Linked DNA regions of Homo sapiens: region 2 is linked to region 1. The links are contacts of gene promoters, found by promoter capture Hi-C in blood cells and fetal thymus (Javierre and others, 2016). All regions are on one chromosome and are shown on one strand. The core of a region is centred on a gene start or on the middle of the fragment in contact, and the rest is flanking DNA. Distances in the headings are between cores, read along the strand shown.

What was found. The method cuts DNA at HindIII sites, captures the fragments that hold promoters and counts their contacts. A CHiCAGO score of 5 or more calls a contact.
Region 2: a contact is called between a fragment that was not itself captured here and the fragment with the promoter of ZWINT in region 1, in 1 of 17 cell types (fetal thymus). The highest score is 10.3, in fetal thymus.

Annotation. Positions count from the first base shown.
Region 1 is chr10:56,359,830-56,362,529 of GRCh38, reverse strand. It overlaps ZWINT (ZW10 interacting kinetochore protein), which reads left to right and starts at 1,271. Exons shown (of 9, transcript NM_007057.4): 1 at 1,271-1,334; 2 at 2,147-2,237; 3 at 2,389-2,512; 4 at 2,677-2,700. The coding sequence starts at 1,294. It overlaps LOC124902546 (a long non-coding RNA gene), which reads right to left and starts at 1,071. Exons shown (of 2, transcript XR_007062372.1): 1 at 674-1,071. RefSeq lists a silencer at 1,004-1,213 and enhancers at 1,304-1,473, 822-1,561, 2,301-2,700, 2,187-2,700. The HindIII fragment of the contact is 11,189 bases long and covers 1-2,700 here.
Region 2 is chr10:52,820,437-52,823,149 of GRCh38, reverse strand. No RefSeq gene overlaps it. Among named protein-coding and RNA genes, the nearest start is that of MBL2, 49 kb to the right of the region's middle. The HindIII fragment of the contact is 7,997 bases long and covers 1-2,713 here.

The sequences.
Region 1 (2,700 bases), core at 22-2,521:
AAGTTTGATCCATTTGGGTCTTACTTTTAAGAGTTAGATGGCACTACAGCACTGATCAGCTAGGACTAATTACTGCCTACTAAATAATTAGTAAACAACTATCAAATCAAGACTTTTTTGTGTGTACTCTGTCCAGTGTCCTACGGACTATGAAGTTTTCCAGCCTGGTTAGTGGAAATAGAGACTATTTCTGACCCTCTGTAATGTCCATATATATATATTTATATATATATATATATGTATTTTTTTTTTTTTGTGAGACGGAGTCTCGCACTGTCACCAGGGCTGTAGTGCTGTGGCGCAATTTCGGCTAACTGCAACCTCAGCCTCCCTGGTTCAAGCAATTCTCCTGCCTCAGCCTCCCGAATAGCTGGGATTACAAGCGCCCACCACCACGCCCAACTAATTTTTTTTGTACTTTTAGTAGAGACGGGGGTTTCACCATGTTGGCCAGGCTGGTCTCAAACTCCTGACCTCGTAATTCACCTGCCTCAGACTCACAAAGTGCTGGGATTACAGACGTGAGCCACCGCGACCGGCCATGTCCTGGTATCTTTAAAAATCTTTTAGCTAGTTTCTTGAGACACATACTGCTCAGTACTCAGCTGAATGAATACCAAGTTCTCTCTCAGCAGTTATCTTTCTCCTGTACTCTGCAAAGAACATTACCTACCTTGGTCTCCCCAGAATATCTGTTCTATTTTGCCAACGCAGGCAATCGGCTGGGCTCTGCTTGAGTTCACTCTCCTGCATCGCATCTATAAAATACTAATATCTTTGAAAGCAGCTCGCTTTTTGAGCGCAGATCATTTGCTTCCTGTATCTCCCGGATCACTATTCTTTACTGATTCCCAGCGTCTTAGAAACAGCCCCACTGTTTTTCGGGGTTTTGTTTTTTTTTTTCTACAGCAGTAGTGAATATTTTAAATAAAGTGTCAATGCTGTAAGTTTCCCTTAAAACGCAAACTCAAGGAAATGCTTTCCCTTTTTCGAGTAGAGAAAGAACTTCCACAGGCGCGCGGTCGAGCTCAAGCCCACTTATAGTCTCTGGCACCGCGTAAGGACTAGCGCGCAGGCGCAGAGCCCGTGCGCGCCTAGCCATAACCGCGCTTGCGCCAAGCAGCGAGGCCCGCCAACGAGCGAATCCGCGCCTGCCAATTAGAGCGCACAATGGTCCTTGATGCCCGCCCACTAACCTCTGCAGCCAATCGCCTGCCCCGGCGCGAAGTCGACTGTGACTTCAAAGTAATCTTAGGGATTGTGGGAAGGCAGCTGAACTCGGCGCCTGGAAAGATGGAGGCAGCGGAGACAGAGGCGGAAGCTGCAGCCCTAGAGTAAGTGTTTGCGGCTAAGTGGCAGCTGGGGCCGGGCCTGGGAGGACCTTGTGGGCCCCTATGTGTAATGATTGGTGCCCTCGACCCTGTACAGCTGTTGAGGTTCGACCCTGCCGTGAAGTGATCCTCACCGCAGTCCCGTCTTAGGTTCCTGAGGTGTCTGTTGCCTGCTCCAGGAGTACAGCCTTTGGGGGACCGTTCGCCGCTCCCCACATCCACATAATCCACAGGATGTGCTCTAGGAGACGGTTTCACTTCTGTCTTCTTGTCCCAACACGACACATTCCCAGTCACTTCTCATCCCCATCCCTGCCCCTTCGTAGATTGCTCCAGTCCCTAATAATGAAAAACCCTAGAGTAGACCGAGGCATCCAGCCCTCTGCCCTGAGTCCTTTCTCAGCTATTCCAAGACTCTGCCCCAAGGCTGGTGCTCAGCGCCAGGAGGGATCCCAAGGCCCAGCATTCTTCCCCTTCCTTGCATATCTCCCTGGCTTCCTTCACATCTTGACTCAAATGATTTCTCTTCAGTGAGACACTCCCTATTTAAAATTTCAGCTCTTTTCTCAAACTCCTTATCCACTAGCCCTGCTGATTTTCCTTTTGGCACGTATTACCACCGTGTGCCCTCCATGCACGCCATTCCTGGTTGCAGGCTGTGGACCCTTCAGGCCCTTGTGTAAACTCTGGTCAAGGCAAGACTCTCAATACTATATATACTGATATACACATCCACATTTGTTTGTGTACACACACGAACTGTAGAACTAGCACCACAAGAAACTGCAATTTCCTGTGTTTCCTTGCCCCTCCAGGGTCCTGGCTGAGGTGGCAGGCATCTTGGAACCTGTAGGCCTGCAGGAGGAGGCAGAACTGCCAGCCAAGATCCTGGTTGAGTTTGTGGTGGTATGTACAAGATGAGAGCGAGCCTTTCAGAAGCCAGGGTCTGGTCCTGGCTCCTCTTACTGAGATACAGGGCAGCACTGGCAGAGAGCAGACTTAAGGAAACCTGTAAGGAGGTAAGGATGTTCCCTGTCTCTGCCCTCCCTCTGAGCAGGACTCTCAGAAGAAAGACAAGCTGCTCTGCAGCCAGCTTCAGGTAGCGGATTTCCTGCAGAACATCCTGGCTCAGGAGGACACTGCTAAGGGTCTCGACCCCTTGGCTTCTGAAGACACGAGCCGTGAGTAGGCAGGGGATTGTAGTAGCAGCTGACCTGAGTGGGGAAGGAAGGAGGATTTCAGTTAGGTCTCCCATTTGGCTGATGGGAAGGAGGCCCAGTGTTGCAGGGAGGCAGGCTAGCAGGCCACCCTCACTCATGTACTCATTCCTGGTGGCTCATCTCAGGACAGAAGGCAATTGCAGCTAAGG
Region 2 (2,713 bases), core at 58-2,557, 3.5 Mb after region 1:
TATCATATATTTTGTTATTATTTAGAAATTGAGTGTTATACATCCTTTATATCAATATAATTTATAATCAGTGTGTGTACACACACACACATACAAACACATGTTTAACTTAGGGTTGTTGTTGTTTTTGCAGAGGTTGCACTTAATTCATCCTCAGAGGGGAGGAGTTTGTCTGTGGATTAGACTGATGCCCTGGGATGCATATCTTTCAAAGTTGTTAAATATCATGTGTATAAAGATATATTCACCTGATACTTGCTCCATGAAGCCTGAGAAGTAAAGCAGAGACAGGCTAAAAACCTGGTCATCTGTTTCACTTAGCTGCCTTCTTCCTCTTATACCTGCTTTATTCCATTTCATTGGTGATGAAAAATGGACCTGAGAGTTGCTGATGCTGCTTCTCTAGTTATCTCTGACCTTGCCGTTAAAGCAGGAAGATCTAGAGTCAGTTATGGGGTTGGGAAGAAGGAAGTAGATGAGACTACATATATAAATGCTACGTTGGTAAGAGAGCCCCAAGCCTGTCCTTGGTGTAGACAGATAATTTCTGTGTATATATAATCAAGTTCTACACCGTGTTTTCAGGCCAAGTTCACTGCATAATGGAAAATGCCCTTACATTTATTATTTTTACTCTGGCAGTATATATTCTCTTTGGGAACTTGGACTATATTAACCAGATTTTTTTTCCTTTTTAAATAACATCTTAATCTCACTCCTTGCACTATTACAATTCTCACAAATAACAGAAGCAGCATTTCTCTCTGATTATAATTTTGTCCATCTTCCTTCTCTGAACTCAGGTCTTCAGCAACATTTGAACTAGAAGTCTACGTCTGATTGCTTCCAGAATCTATATGATCATAATACAGTTTCTAGAGAGTGACCAGGAATGATAGGTAAAGAATCATGAAATACTGTACACACACACACACACACACACACACAAAAGGATTGCCTATTATGTCTATCCGCTCTGTAATTTGTAAAACAAAATCAGGGTGTAAATTGTTCTATGCCAGGGTGAAAAATCACAGATTTTCTTTGAAAATATACAAAACTAAGCAAAAGAAAAACTAAGCATACTGGGAGAGCTTTGGCAGTTGTCATCAGTACTTCTTATAGTTAGAAAGAGCAATCGTGTCCCTGAGAGTCTATGAGGTATCAGTGCCACAAAGCAAGGTATCGGTGGTCTCCATACTAAACATGGGTGGAGGAAGAAGGTTTGAAACATGGAGCAAAGCCGCCTGGAGCAGGTTTTGAATGTGGACATTTTTGCCTCATAGATTAGTAGATGGAAGAAATCTAGAAAAAACAGATTTCACAAGAAAATCCCATGACTGTTTCTGAAAACATATGATCTTCTCCCTCTGGCTTTCATTTTCCCACTTCTGATAAGCAATTTTTATGGGAAATGTTTTATTTCCCTTTTAGCTCTACTATCACAAATACAACAATGCAAGCATGATAAGAAATGGAGGCTAGCAATCTCAGAGCAAAAATTAAGAAAGACAGGAGAATGTGGCAGACCGAAGAACTTTTCTTCTTCTGTCTAAATGTGGCAGCTGCTATGTAACTCCAATCTATGTTTGTATAAACACAGAGCCAGTGTTGTCATATTGTTCATTATTTTAAAGAAACCAAAAACATGGACTTGAAACCAAAAACATGGACTTAATTAAAAATGTATGAATTGTAAGTGTTGGGAATGACCAATAAATTTTTTTTAAAAATTGCAGACCAGAAGTATGCAGGGTAAACGAAACTTCCCTAACAGTAAATATTAAGACATCAATTTACAACTACTACCTGAAATTCATAAGGTAATTAAAAGGACATTAAGCCTATCTGACTTTACTGCAAAAACTGAACACAAAGTTGTTCCAAGGACATATAATGCTATGATTTAAGGATGACTGAAATGAGTGAGAGAGGTCTTCCTTACATAGAATCACTTTTCCACTTCCAAGTGGAATGATGTCAAATGATGTTAGTGATTTTCTCCTGTTTCAAAGTGTCCCTCGATCCAATCACTATAGCTCAAATCTAGCAAAATAATGATTCTATTACCTGCTACTACATGATGAGCTGAATATTTACACAGAGTTCATCCACTCCATTGACGTTTCAATTACACATTTGACAAAATGACTTATTGGCACACCTGATAAGAAGCATTCACACCTACCTGAAGAAACCATAGAGTAATGTAAATTCATCATGTGTTATTTCAGGCAGCCAGTCTTTGAAAGCACCTTTCATTTAGAAATCAAAGGTGAAGGTCTAAAGAAAAGAACTCTCTTATCCAATCAATCATTAGCATATATGAAATGTTGACCTGATGCCCCTTATTCATAACTGATTATTTAACAAAAATAAAAAACAAGAGAGAAATTTATTTCCTTCCTGAGTAAAGTAAATCTTTGTTTTTAGTACAAGCAGGCAAATCAGTAACCAAATAATAAATGGAGAGTTAAATAAGGGTTTATCATCTGCCTCACTTACCAATGGTTGCTTACTGTCTGATGATTCCATACTTTCAGTGACCATACTAATAAAAACAGCTCACCCGGACAAATTTACAAGCCAGTTTTCAAAAGCAACACATTGCCACTTCCACACTAGCCAATGAGCCTTCTTGCATTGCAATGCTCTTATTCAACAAGATTAAGAAGCACAAATGCAGAACAATGTTCTCTGTGACTGTGAGGGA